3 separate regions of the Homo sapiens genome follow, and regions 2 and 3 are each linked to region 1. The links are contacts of gene promoters, found by promoter capture Hi-C in human tissues and cell types (Jung and others, 2019). All regions are on one chromosome and are shown on one strand. The core of a region is centred on a gene start or on the middle of the fragment in contact, and the rest is flanking DNA. Distances in the headings are between cores, read along the strand shown. Region 1 holds the start of FRRS1L (ferric chelate reductase 1 like). Region 2 overlaps ELP1 (elongator acetyltransferase complex subunit 1). Region 3 overlaps PTPN3 (protein tyrosine phosphatase non-receptor type 3).

What was found. Contacts are between HindIII fragments. The study calls those that stand out against the background at their distance.
Region 2: a contact is called between a fragment that was not itself captured here and the fragment with the promoter of FRRS1L in region 1, in 2 of the 25 tissues and cell types used here (heart left ventricle and mesendoderm cells).
Region 3: a fragment that was not itself captured here is called in contact with the fragment with the promoter of FRRS1L in region 1 in 2 of the 25 tissues and cell types used here (dorsolateral prefrontal cortex and pancreas).

The regions. Positions count from the first base shown.
Region 1 is chr9:109,164,430-109,169,072 of GRCh38, reverse strand. It overlaps FRRS1L (ferric chelate reductase 1 like), which reads left to right and starts at 1,824. Exons shown (of 5, transcript NM_014334.4): 1 at 1,824-2,172. The coding sequence starts at 1,935. The HindIII fragment of the contact is 7,141 bases long and covers 818-4,643 here.
Region 2 is chr9:108,884,492-108,889,134 of GRCh38, reverse strand. All of the region lies in intron 29 of ELP1 (elongator acetyltransferase complex subunit 1), which reads left to right. Among named protein-coding and RNA genes, the nearest start is that of ACTL7A, 25 kb to the right of the region's middle. The HindIII fragment of the contact is 6,266 bases long and covers 1-4,643 here.
Region 3 is chr9:109,423,096-109,427,738 of GRCh38, reverse strand. It overlaps PTPN3 (protein tyrosine phosphatase non-receptor type 3), which reads left to right. Exons shown (of 26, transcript NM_002829.4): 12 at 617-789. Among named protein-coding and RNA genes, the nearest start is that of PTPN3, 73 kb to the left of the region's middle. The HindIII fragment of the contact is 7,498 bases long and covers 1-4,643 here.

The sequences.
Region 1 (4,643 bases), core at 575-3,074:
GCACCGTTATTGTTAATTTCAGTAACCAAAATGAAGGGAATAAAAAGGAAAGTAAGAGGTAAAAGCTTGTATTCCCAAACCAGAGAATCTACACTGAAATCAAAAGTCTAATGCTTTATTTTTTTGGCTAAACTTTGGTCCATTCTAAGTTGACCATACCTTCCCTGGTGAACAGAAAGAGAAGAAAAGAAAATAAAGAAATTTTAATTTTTAAGAAAGGTTTAAGGTTTTTGTTTTTGTTTTTGTTTTTTTTTTTTTTTTTGAAGGACTACACTTTAACAGATTTTCAATCTGTTGGATCAGCTTTTTTAGAATGTTATGCATTGCCACGCTATGCTTTTTGGGAAGAAGTCTCTTGAGTTTTTAAAGTAATCATAGTTCATCTTACCTTTTTCAAATAATCTGATCTATTTTTTGTGACAACTGCTATGTTGGGGGACCTAGTGAAGCCCAAGGTTTTCATGAATTACACCTCAATTCAGCCATCAGGATTAATATGTTTAAATTCCAGTTGGACAGCCCACTGTTAGCTGATACCTAATAGAAAATACCTGACTTCTAAGTCCCCCATCATGTCTCCCCTGTTTCAACAGCACTACCCTTATCTCTCAGCCAATCAGGCCATAAAGGGTTAAGATCACTAGTTTCCTTTTGAATATTAACATTTCACAATATTGTGTACATGTGTGCATGCCACTTACAGCACTGAACCCTATTGATCCTTACCTCTATGATCTTCCCTAATCTTCATTGCATCATGTCAATGACTAATCATGAGAGATCAGGCAGTCTGACTTCTAGGTCTGCATTTGGGACCTCTATGCTTTTCTGCCTCCATAATTATTTTGTTTATGCAATAAAATAAAATAATAAAATAGGAAAAGCAGGTTAAAATGCTGGCTCTGCAACACCAGCCTGAAAGGAATTGCGTCCGCCTCTCTGATGGAAAACAGCTTAGCAATTCGAATATATCACCCCAACAACCATCATCAAAAGAGAACCCTGGGACCTGCCATAAAGCAAATGCTTGGTGTGAATCAATGGATGGCTGAGTAAATAGCCAAAAGTGAACTGCAAGCAGCAGGAATGGATTTGAGAAAAATCAACAATTCAGCATGGCCCTCAGATACGGTGTGGGCCTTCCAAGGCCTGCGCGTGCTTGCTGCAGGGAAAGAGAGTAAACCAGAAGCCTAGTTTTGAAGGGGAACAGGTTACCTACTGGCACCAGCCTCTGTTGATTACACACCGCAAGAGCCTGGAGAGGAAGCAGGTGAATCCAGTTTTCTCTGTCTCTAAACACCTCAGTTTACCTAGCTCTATTGTGGGGGTCTTGCAATTTCAAGTTCCTTCTGTGATGATCCAAGAAATAATAGGTCTAGCAAGTGCTTTATGTAAACCAAAAAGTGCCGGCACAAGGTTGAGGAGGCAGCACTGACCAGGTGTGTCCAGGGTAAACTCTCTAGAGGAGCGTTTCATAAATTGAACGTGCATTGGGATCTCCTGGGAATTTTGATGAAATGAACATCCCGCTTCATGGGTCTGGAGTGGGGCCTCAGCGATGCTAACAAGCTTCCAGGTGATGCTGATGCTGCCGGTCCGCGGACCACACTCCGGAGTAGCAAGGGGCCAGAAGGGCCAAATCTGCCTGCGTGGAGGGAAGTCGGGGAGATGGGGAGAATGGAAAGAAGGACGGTAGAAGGGAAGCTGCTAGGAAGGAGAGATCGGTGCGGGGAGGAGGGGGGTTCCAAGAAGAAGGGGGAGGCTGCGGTGCTGGAGCGAGGATGCGCAGACCGAGGCAGGGAGGCGGGGGTGCGGGAGGCTCCGCGGCTGCGCGGGCGCGTGCTGGTGGCCTCGGCGGAGGCTCAGTCCCGGCCCGCGCCCGCGGCGCCCCCGCTGCGGCCCGAGCGGCCTGGCTGCGGGATCTGTGCGCACGGATGGCGCGGCCGCCCCGGCAGCACCCGGGGGTCTGGGCGTCGCTGCTCCTGCTGCTACTGACGGGGCCCGCCGCCTGCGCAGCCAGCCCCGCGGACGACGGTGCGGGCCCGGGGGGCCGGGGACCCCGGGGACGCGCGCGGGGGGACACGGGCGCCGACGAGGCGGTGCCGCGCCACGACTCCTCCTACGGCACCTTCGCGGGGGAGTTCTACGACCTGCGCTACCTGTCGGAGGAGGGTGAGGCTGCGGGAGGGCGAGGGGTTGCGGGAGGGGAGACCGGGGGTGGGGGACCGAGGATCGGGGGAACGAGGAGAGGGGGCGAGGGAGGGGGAGGGGGTCGGAAAAGATGTCCGTGGAGGCAGCTCTTGCAGAGGCGAGGCCAGGATGGGGAGCGCAGTGCCCAGGCCTCCGCCGGCCTGGAGGAAAGGCCCAAAGAGCTGTCAATGCCTGCCGCCCGCTTTACAGATGGGGAGAGTGAGGCTGGGAGAGGGAGGGGTCATCCAAGTTCTGCAAGGCTGTGGATAGGGGTGGGTGCTGAGTCTAAGCTCCCCCAGTTCTTAGATCTGGCTTCCACCTTTGCCGCCTGGGGTTGGGTTATAGGGGAGGAGGCCGCCATCTGGCCAGGGCAGCTAGGGGGAAGCAGAAAAACCCCAACCTAAAGAGAGAGGTTGCCTTATTTCCTCCCTGTCTGTATTGACTTAAATTTGCAGTGACCAGCGCCCACCTCGTAGCATTCTGTTCCTGCTCACTGACCCGTCAGAGCTGGGTCACATCAGCCTCCCCACTCCCATCCCTCCTCTTTTATGACGCCACATATGTTATGGTCCCCTAGTGCGAGCCACCATTGTTGTGGCCTGCTGGGCCCGCAGACTGGGAGTTTGTCAGCCAAGGGCCTCCCTGTAGAGCTGCTTCAACGAGCACAAAAGCCAAGCGGATGGTGGTCAGAAGGAATGGAAACTGGCCTCTTTAAGCAACTTTGGGAAGTAGTGACTTTCCTTTTCTTCTGCTAAGAGGGATATCCAACCATCAAGCTGGGGTTTGAAGTGTTGAGTCCCAGGAGCTCATATCTGTTAGTGGATGTGTCTGTTGTTAGGATTAAGTTCAGCTGTATACAACAAGCAAACATTAATAGCTTCAACAAGATAGAAGTTTCTCTCTTACAGAAAGAAAACTAGAAATAGGTAATCCAGAACTGGTCTGGAGGCTCCTTGGTCACCAGTGTCTCTGGATCCTGCCCTTCTGTTTCTTCACAATTCTTAGCATGTAACTTCATGGTTCAAAATAACTGCTTGAGCTACAGCCATTATGTTCACATTCTAGACAGTGGGAAAAATGAAGCAGGAAGAAGGTCACTGACTACTTTATAAAGGGATTACTCGGAAGTTTCATATAACAATTTTTATACTTCTTTGGCCACAACTTAATCATATGGTTGCACATAGGTACAAAGGAGGATGTAAAATAGAGCCTATTAGCTGAGACATAATATGCCCAGTTCAAAAATCAGAATTATTGTATTAAAGAAGATGGAGAGAATGGATTTGGGGAAATGTATTAAGTAGAGGCTTAACTGCTGAATTAGAGATTTTAACATATAGTGGTTTAAATAAGCTAGTTTATTTTTCTCTCTGATAAGAGTCTGGTTGGTCTGGGGCTGGTGGGATGACTCTGTTCCGCAAGGTCATTCAGGGACCCGGGTTCTTTCCATCTTGTTGCTCTGCCATCCCCCTGAGGCTTTGTCCTCATCAGTACAGTAGAAGCCAGGTTGCATGTCCTTGTTCAAGATTGAGGGAAAGAAAAAGAGAAGTTCAGGGCAAGTAGTTACCTTTTAGGCTGGCTGCCCACATTACTGCTGTTCACATTCCTTTGGCAAAAACATAGTTACAATGACCTAGCTTCAAGGGAGACTAAGAAATGTAGTCTTCTAGCTGGAGAGCCATGTGGCGGAATCTGTCACTCTGGAAAAGAATAAATATTCCGAAGCCCGTCTGTTTCTGAAAGCATCTAATGTATCTTTACACTGTACACAGCCTAGTGCTGCCAGGTGACTTAAATGTGGTATGTGAGAACTTGTATTCTGATTGGGCTCATGCATCTAACAAATGAAGGATAAGCTCAGATTCTGTACGTCCTTTGAGTCTCTCTGCAGAGAGAATGATATGTTCATTGTATAGTCCAGAAAGTTTTATGAATGTGGACATCAGGTGGGCCACAGCCATCAAGGACAGCTTTTATAGAGTCAAGCCATGAAGTAGGAAAGACTTCAGTGACACAGAAGAGGGAAGGCATTTAGGTGAGGTGATCACATAGCAGGCAGCAGGGCTTTGTACCGATCCCTAGTGTGTCTGCTTCGCGCCCCCACCATTCTGCACATAAAACTGGTTTAACCCTCCTGAAGTCTGCCTCTAACCTGTTGGCATTGCACTCAAAAGTCTGTGATGGGGCCGGGCGTGGTGCTTCACGACTGTAATCCCAGCACTTTGGGAGGCTGAGGTGGGTGGATCAGGAGGTCAGGAGTTCGAGACTAGCCTGGCCAACATGGTGAAACCCCGTCTCTACTAAAAATACAAAATTAGCCGGGCGTGGTGGTGCACGCCTGTAATCCCAGCTACTCAGGAGGCTGAGGCAGGAGAATTGCTTGAACCCAGGAGGTGGGGAGGTTGCAGTGAGCTGAGATTGCATCATTGCACTCCATCCTGGACAACAGA
Region 2 (4,643 bases), core at 924-3,423, 280 kb after region 1:
ATGAAGGTGCTCTACTTTAACATACCACTGGTTTGACCTTGGTAGAAAGTACTTAATTACATCTCAAGGTAGCTGTGCTTTTTAAAATTGAGTTTGCCAAAGTAGAAACAATGAGAAAGGACCATTATAAAACAGGATCATTGAAGGCTACATACTCTTGGCTTTTACTCTCATTCTCCCTATTGGAAATGTCTCTTTTACCTCAGGGACCTGGAGGTACAGCAGATTATAAGGATAAGTACCCATATGAGCATTTGGTAGTATTATAGGATTTATTATGAAAATAATAAAACTGCAGTAACACTGGCCACAGACTAACAGTACACAGGTGCACAGTTGACACCAGGGATTATTGCCTTGTAGAGTTTTGACCTTTGATGAGAGAGTGTTTTTTACAGTTGTTACTGATAGCACATTTATGTAACTTAATTGTGCTTTAAAAATATTTAATTGTCTCTTGTGTAATAACAGTAAGTGAAAGACGATAACTAAAATTTTATATAATTAGATCCTGGAGAGAATATTTGTTGGGTGATTGAATTGAAAATACCAGTGAATGAAACATACCTAAAAGGGTAGATAGGTTGGGTTGGAAAGATATACCACATCGAGGGTTAATTAAATGGATAAGATGTCATTATCTTTTTTTCTTTGTAAAGGAAGATTAATGCATAAAATTATTTTGTGTAATTTACATACAATAAAATTATGTGTTGTACAGTTGTATAATTTACATATAATAAAGCTAATTCACCAATTTTAGATGAAGAATTCAGTACATTTGGACATATGTTTGTAGCTGTGTAACCACCATTGCACTCATGATCTAGAACATTTCTAACACCCCCAAAAGTTCCCTACTTCCCCTTTTGCAGTCAGCCTTCTCCCTCCACTGCCAGCCTTTGGCAAACTGATCAGTCAGTAAAGTTTCACATTATCTAGAATTTCATATAAACAGAACCATATGGTATGTAGTCTTTTTAATCTGGCTCCTTTCACTCACATAGTGCATTGGAGATGCATCCATGTTGTAGTTTATTCCTTTGTATTGCTGAATAGTATCCCATTATATGTATATGTCAGAATTTGTTGATTTACCAGTTGATGTACATTTGGATTGTTTTCAGTTTGGGGTTATTATGAATAACGCAGCCATGAACATTCTAGTGCAGGTCTTTATGGGGACAGGAGTAGGAATGCCACATCCCGTGGTAAGTGGATGTTTAACTTTTTAGGAAGCTGCAGAACTAATCTGCAGTGGCCGTATCATTTTGCATTCCCCTCAGTGATATGTGAGAGTGCTTCAGTGACTCCTATACTCACCAACACTGGGTGTATTACTGTGACACTAGATGTATTATCTATTGCTACGTAACAACTTACCTTAAAAGCTGGCAGCTTAAAACAACAGACCCTATTATCCCACTTTTTCAATGGGCCAAGAATCTTGGCTGGGCTTAGCTGGGGCCTCTGGCTCAGGGTCCTTTACAAGGCTGCAATTAAGGTATTGGCCAGGGCTAGAGTCATCTCAAGGCTTGACTAGTTTTTAATTTCATTTTCTAATGTTTTATTACTAGTATATAGAAATATAGCTGAAGTGTTTTGCAGGGAGGCTGTATAATTGACCTTGTATCCTGCAACCTTGCTAAACTCATTTATTAGTTCTAGAAGCTCTTGGGTGTATTCTCTAGGATTTTCTACATCAACAAACATGGTTTCTATAAATATAGTTTTATGTCTTTCTTACAATCAATACTTTTTTCTATCTGTATTGCATTTTCTAGGGCTTCCAGTGTGGTGTTGAATAGAAGTGTTAAGAGTGAACATCCTTGCCTTTTTCCTGATATTGGAGAAAATTCACTTGTCTTTTAGCATTAAGTGTCATGTTTGCTTTTTTAAAATTTTATTCTATATTATTTTATTTTTGAGACAGAGTCTTGCTCTGTCACCCAGGCTGGAGTGCAGTGGTGTGATCTCAGCTCACTACAACCTTGACCTCCTAGGCTCAAGCGATCCTCCCACCTCAGCCTCCTGAGTAGCTGGGACTGCAGGAACATGCCACCATGCCTGGCTAATTTTTGTATTTTTTGTAGGGATGGGGTTTTGCCATGTTGCCCAGGCTGGTCTTGAACTGTTGGATTCAAGCAATTCGCCTGTCTCAGCCTCCCAAAGTGCTGGGATTACAGGCATGAGCCTCCGTGCCTGGCCTGATATTTGCTTTTTTTTTTTTTTTTAATGCTCTCTATTGCAGAGTTGGCAAACTACAACCTGTGACAAATCCAGCATGCCACCTGTTTTTGTAAATAAAGCTTTATTGGAGCATAGCCATGCTCATTAGTTTACATCTTGTGTATGGCTGCTTTAACACTACAGCAGCAGAGTTAGAGTTGTGACACAGATAGTTTGGCCCATAAGGCCTATATTTACTGTCTAATCTTTTACAGGAAAAATTTGCCAATTCCTGCCCTCTTGGTTTGAGGAAATTCCCTTCTGTTCCTTGTTCTGAGAGTTTGTATCATGAATGGGTGTTAAATTTTGTCAAATGCATTTTCAACTATGAAGGGTTTTGTTTTTAGACGAGTGATATGGGGGACTAGGTGATTGATTTTCTACTGTTAAACCAACCTTGCATCTCTGGGTTCAACCCCACTTGGTATTATAGATTTATTACCCTTTTTCTCTTGTGGCAGATTAGATCTACTAAAATTTTCTTGAGGATTTTTGTGTTTGTGTTCATGAGGGATATTGTAGTTTTTTCGTGTCTTTGCCATGTTTTGGGTATCAGGATAATGCTGCTGTCATTGAGGGGTGACAAAAATGAGGGGTGGTGTCCTTTACACTTCTGTTTTCTGGAGGATTTCATGTAGAATTGGTATGAGAGTCTAGCTTATGGTTAAAAACCTATGTGTGATGTTTCAGACCTGACCATAAACAATTACAGACTTTACCTAGGAGGCCACATGGGGAAAAGCTGCCCTCCCTACACCAGACTTGGCGTACTGCCAATGCATTACAGTTTCTAAAGGGAGTTGCAGTCAAGGACTCAGGGCCCCCTGTTAGTCATGCTCTTGTAACAGTATTTGCATTGAGAGTCCTGGCACTTTCATTCTTAGGTCTCTCTATCTGAGGCCATGGGCCAAGGTCTTCTTCAGGCACCTCTGCCAAGGCCTGTTTATGCAAGAAGGAGTGGAAAAACCTTGACATTTTTTTCCACTGTGACTCACTACCCAGTACTTTTCCACCCTTAGCCCCCTTCCTTTGCACCCATACCCCCAAGATCCATCAAACTGCTAAAGCCTTTTTTTCCAAGCTCCTTCAACAGTGAACCAACCCTCATGTCTGTGTGGATCCAGCTGACTCTTGACTAGTGAGTTGTTCCTTGGGAAAAAATGGAACAGAGAGAGTTGGTGCTTTCCCTGGTTTTAGCCTCTTGCTTATACCAATGCAATGCCTGAAGGCTTAATTCATTTTTGACTTGTTGCTTTGATCAGCTACTCCAACACCTGACAGCTCAGCTCTTTCTCCCAGCTCTTGGGAGATATTTTTTTCTTTAAATGTTTAGTAGAATATACCAGTAAGGCCATCTCGGCCAGGAGTTTTCTTTAATGAAAGCTTTTCCACTATTAGTTCAGTTACTTTAGTAGACATTAGCCTATTCAAGTTTATCTGTGTCTTCTGGAATGAGCATTGGTAGTTTATGTCTTTCAAGTAATTTGTTCATTTCATCTAAATTGTCAGATTTATTGGTATGAAGTGTTTATAGTATTCTCTTATTTTACTGTCCGTAGGGTCTATGGTGATGTCCTGTCTTTCATTCTAGATATTGATGTGTCTTCTTTTTTCTGATTATTCTGGCCAGAGGTTTATCAATTTTATTGATCTTATTAAAGAATGAACTGTTTCATTGTTTTTCTCTATGATTTTTCTGTATTCTATATCATTCTTTTTTTATTATTTTATTATTTTATTTGCTCTTTATTTTTCTAGTTTCTTAAGGTGATGGCTTACTTTTATTTTTTTCTTATTTTTTTCTTTTGTTGTTGTTGTTTTTTTAAAGAAACAGGGTCCCACTCTTGCTCAGGCTGGAGTGCAGTGGCACGATCATGGTTCACTGCAGTCTCAAACTCCTACATTCAAGCTGTCCTCCCCCCTCAGCCTCCAGAGTAGTTGGGATTACAGGTGCATGCCACCATGCCTGGCTAATTTTTAATTTTTTTTGTAGAGATGGGGTGTTACTAGTTGCCCACGCTGGTCTGAAACTCCTGGCCTCAAGTGATCCCTCCACCTCTGCCTCCCAAAGTGCTGGGATTCCATGTGTAAGCCACTGTGCCTGACCAAGGTGATGGCTTAAAGCTATTGATTTGAGATGATTCCTTACTTTATAGTTTAAGCATATAATGCCATAATTTTCCTCAAGCACCGTTTTAGTTATGTTATACAAATTTTGAAATGTTTTGTTTTCATTTCCTAATTTCCCTTGTGATTTCTTTATTGAACCTTGGCTTATTTAGAAGTATGTTTAACTTGCAGATATTGGAGATTTGCCAGCCATCTTTTTGTTATTAATTTCTACTTTAATTTTGTTGTGATTAGAGAACATACATTTTATTAATTTAAATTTATAATTTATTTTAATTTATAAT
Region 3 (4,643 bases), core at 1,058-3,557, 260 kb before region 1:
TCAGAGCAGCTAGGACTGGAATCTGGATCTCCTGACCCCTCAGTGCAAGATTCAGGGTGGCACAAAAATGTATAAGACGGCAATTTAACATGAAAACAGAAAACCTAAACTCATGCAGAATGCAGGCAAAGCAAATGATTAAAATGATTATTACATATGAGCACTGGATTCAACTCTGTGCTTTGTGGAAAGCAAATAGAGAAAAACCCAAAGGGTTATAAACTTGCTGTTGTCTGATAGATGAAAGAGTATTCCTTCAGGAGAGAGATGTTCCCAGAGTTAAAATTTAAAAGGAGTGTATCAGACGGTTTTTATCTGATTGCTCCAAATGTATCCAGCCTAGAAATGTAAATAGATTTGAAATAAAAGCATTCATGAAGAAGCGCAGATGATGATAAAGAATAGATTCTGGTCATCTCTATTACCATGTTCATAAAGACGGTTAACAAATCGTGCTCTTGAATATTCCGGTACACTGGTTTGTGGCCACGGCATTTTGAAACCAGTTTTCTGCTGTCTGTTGCATCTTACCTCATTTCACCAATGTGGGTTAAATGCTTACAAGTCCCTGCTCCTATGTCTGTGTGGGTGAAATCTTGACTGTTTTTCCTCCCAGGCTGAATCCAGGGAACATATTGTGGCCTTCAACATGCTGAATTACCGATCTTGCAAAAACTTGTGGAAATCCTGTGTTGAGCACCATACGTTCTTTCAGGCAAAGAAGCTACTACCTCAGGAAAAGAATGTTCTGTCTCAGTACTGGACTATGGGCTCTCGGAACACCAAAAAGTGAGTGTGCTGTAAAGACTGTGTCCACACTAGGCTGAGATGTAAATGCATCCTGGTCATCAGTGAATAGAGGACATTGTTAGGCAGAGGAGGAAACCCATAGCCCAGGGGCTCCAGGCATTGGATCTCTGAACCATAACTAAAAGTCTCCCGGGGTCAGCAGTGTCTAAGGGATATCTCATGTTCCCAGCATTTCTCTCCCCTCAACTCTGCTGAACTCAGCACTTCCAAGCAGTCAGAATGGCAGCTGTACCCTGCACCATGACATAATAAAGGAAATGGAGCCATGGTTCTGTGTGTCTCCTGGTGCCAGCATACTGGGCTATCCCAGTCTGATGCCACTATGCCAGCCTCTCCCACAGAACTTTAATTCCATAAGATGCTCTATAAAAATGAATGAAGGAATAGAAAAACATTTCCAGAGTCAAGTGACTTTGGGATATATTGCCTATAATAATTACAAAATAACAGTAGTAATCACAGTTGATAATTACTGAGCATTTACTTTGTGCTGGGCACATAATTATATTTGACTCTTACAACTCTCCTATGAGATAGGTACTATTAGCCACAGGAATGATATTCAAAATATTTAATGACTAGTACAGGAAAAGAAATGGATGTAAATTTATATATATTTATGTATAAATATATATAATATATAAATTTTTAAATTCTAATTTAGATTAAAATTTATTCTCTAAATAAAATGATGTACAGTAAAAGAAATGGATGTACATTGATATATATAATTCGTATATACATTTTAAAATTCTAATTAAGATAAATTTATTCTCTAAATGAAATAACCATGCAGTTTGTATTTTTGTTTTCTTTGTTCTAAGACTACCCTCTAAGTATAAGAGGTAGCATAAATTGTCAATTTATTCTTATAATTTCTTTTTTCTTTCTTTCTTTTCTTTTTTTTTTTTTTTTGAGATGGAGTCTTACTCTGTCACCCAGCCTGGAGTGTAGTGGTGCCATCTTGGCTCACTGCAACCTCCGCCTCCCAGGTTCAATCGATTCTCTTGCCTCAGCCTCCCGAGTAGCTAGGATTACAGGAGCACACCACCACGCCTGGCTAATTTTTGTATTTTTAGTAGAGACAGGGTTTCACCATGGTTGGCCAGCCTGGTCTCGAATTCCTGACCTCAGGTGATCCACCCACCTTGGCCTCCCAAAGTTCTGGGATTACAGGCATGAGCCACCGTGCCCAGCCTATTCTCTCTTTTTTGTTTTGTTTTGTTTTGAGACGAAGTCTCACTCTGTCGCCCAGGCTAGAGTGATCTCGGCTCACTGCAACCTCTGTCTCCTGGGTTCAAGTAATTCTCCTACCTCAGCCTCCCAAGTAGCTGGGATTACAGGTGCCCACCACCACGCCCAGCTGATTTTTGCATTTTTAGTAGAGACAGGGTTTCACCACATTGGGCAGGCTGCTCTCGAACTCCTGACCTCAGGTGATCTGCCTGCCTCGGCCTCCCAAAGTGTTGGGGTTACAGGCATGAGCCACCGTGCCAGGCCATATTTTCTAAATCATTTGTTGGTTTTTCAAAATTGTTTTCGTGATTTGTTGTTGATGTGGCTATTACTAACTAAATGAGACCCGTGTCTGAGCCATTATCTTTCTGATAGGTGGAACTGCATCAGACTGTTCCAGTTACTTTCCTAATACATTGATAATCATTAGGGAACTTGTAAACTGAATAAGTAGCTAATTTCTGTTAGTATCAGTGATACTATTTGTGGTGCTAAATGCTATCTCTCAGCTTCTGATGAACCAAGAGTGAATATATTAAGTTTTTAGCTCTTATAATACTGTTTAGTATTTGTATACATTCAGTAGATCTACTGTTGAGCAAGCCATGAAAATAACTTACTGGATTATATCATTGACTTAGGTTGGGCCTGATCCTCAGGCCAGATGAGAGAAGGAATGGGGAGGCAACTGAAACCATGCCCTCTGTTGCTGAGCTGCCTGGGTTCAAATCCTGCCTCTGTCACTTGAGCTTTAATTTGTTGCTTCTATTTCTTCATCTGCAAAGCTTTGTCATCTGCATGCATCCAATGCCAGCAGGGCTGGGTTCTGGTCTTGTATTGTGGCACAAGAAAATACCCCTATTTTGGTGACTGAAAGCAACACCCATTCTGTTATATCTCATGACTTTGTGAGTCAGGAATCCTAGAAGGGCTTGGCCAGAGGCCTCTTCTGCTCTGTGTGGTGTAGATAGGGATTTCTCAGTGAATGTGGCCAGAGGATCCAAGATAACTTCTCTTGCATACCTGGTGTCTTGATGGAATGGTTGGAAGGCTGGACTCACCTGGACTCCTTAGCATCCCCATCTGGATACTCCAGGAGGGTGGTTGAATTTCTTACATGGACACTCAGGGTTCCAGGAGCGAAAGGCAGAACCGTTCAGCCTTCTTAAGGGTGAGACCTGGCACTGGCACAGCGACTCTGTTGCTGAAAGCAGTCACAAGCCAACCCAGATGCAAGACTCAAAGAACTTGCAGTCATCTTTAATCTGCCACAGGGGATCATTTGGGTTGGGAGGATGGCTTGGGAGGACAAGTCAGCAGTTCTTTTACTACCTGTGCCAGCTTCAGCATACTGGTGAATTTCAAGTCTCATTACCTCCATTTTACAGATGAGGACACTGAGGCTTAGAAGGGTCACATGACTTGCCCAGCCCCTAGAGATACAGATACACATCTGCTTATTGGGCCTTCTGAAAGGTTCCACATAAAAAGAAATTTGTTGGGTTATTTTCCAAGCTTATGGGACAATGGAACACTTTTTTTTCAGAGAGTCCCTATTAATAACCCATGACACATTAAACCTTGGAGTTGGGCAGTTTGCTCCCCTTGTTTTGATCCTGTGCTCTTCATCACTGGCAGTGTGGTTTCTGATGTAGGCCTGCCTCAGAGGAAAGAGTCTCCCAGTGATGCTGTTGTGAGCATTTTGATCAGGGTGACAACAGCATTTCTTAATGTGAATTAGTACATGATGTGCTACAGGGCGATTCATATTGTTTATGTTCTTTTGTTTGTTCTTTGTTCTGTTTTGTTTTTGTTGGTTGGTTGATGTCATGTCACAAGGAAATGTGTAGAATGTTTTCATAAGACATTAAATCCTAGTTTAAAATTTAGAGATGCCAGAACCAAAGTTGTCACCCTTTAACAGGGTGACAGGCTTCATGCTCTATTCTCTCAAATAATTCATTCTCTGAGGGGTCTAGATAGCTAAGATTTAAATTCTCTAGGTATAAATAAAATTCAAAAGTAACCTTCAGGGTAGCACATTTCAAAGAACGTAGCCTGAAACTCTGTATAATTTTTTGTTTTTGGAGACAGAGTCTTACTGTGTTCCCCAGACTGGAGTGCAGTGGTGCGATCTTGGCTCGCTGCAACCTCTGTCTCGGGGATTCAGGGGGTTCTCATGCCTCAGCCTCCCAAGTAGCTGGAATTATAGGCATGCGCCACTATACCTGGCTAATTTTTTGTATTTTTAGTAGAGGTAGGGTTTTGCCATGTTGGCCAGGCTGGTCTTGAACTCCTGACCTCAAGTGATCCACCCGCCTCAGCCTCCCAAAATGCTGGGATTGCAGGCATGAGCCACTGTGCCCAGTTTGAAACTACTTTCTAAGCGCATTTTCAGATTCTCTCTCAAAGATTTACCAGTGATTTATAGTGACAGCTCCTGCCAGCTAGGATGATGAAGAGCACCTGAAAAAATGGTTAATATTTTTACTTAGGCCAGTGTGAATAAAATAAGAATTCCTTGAAATCACTGGAGCTGTATTTCTGTGTGATCCTGGAATTCCTTCTAATCTGGTTAGGTTTGGTTATATTCTGGA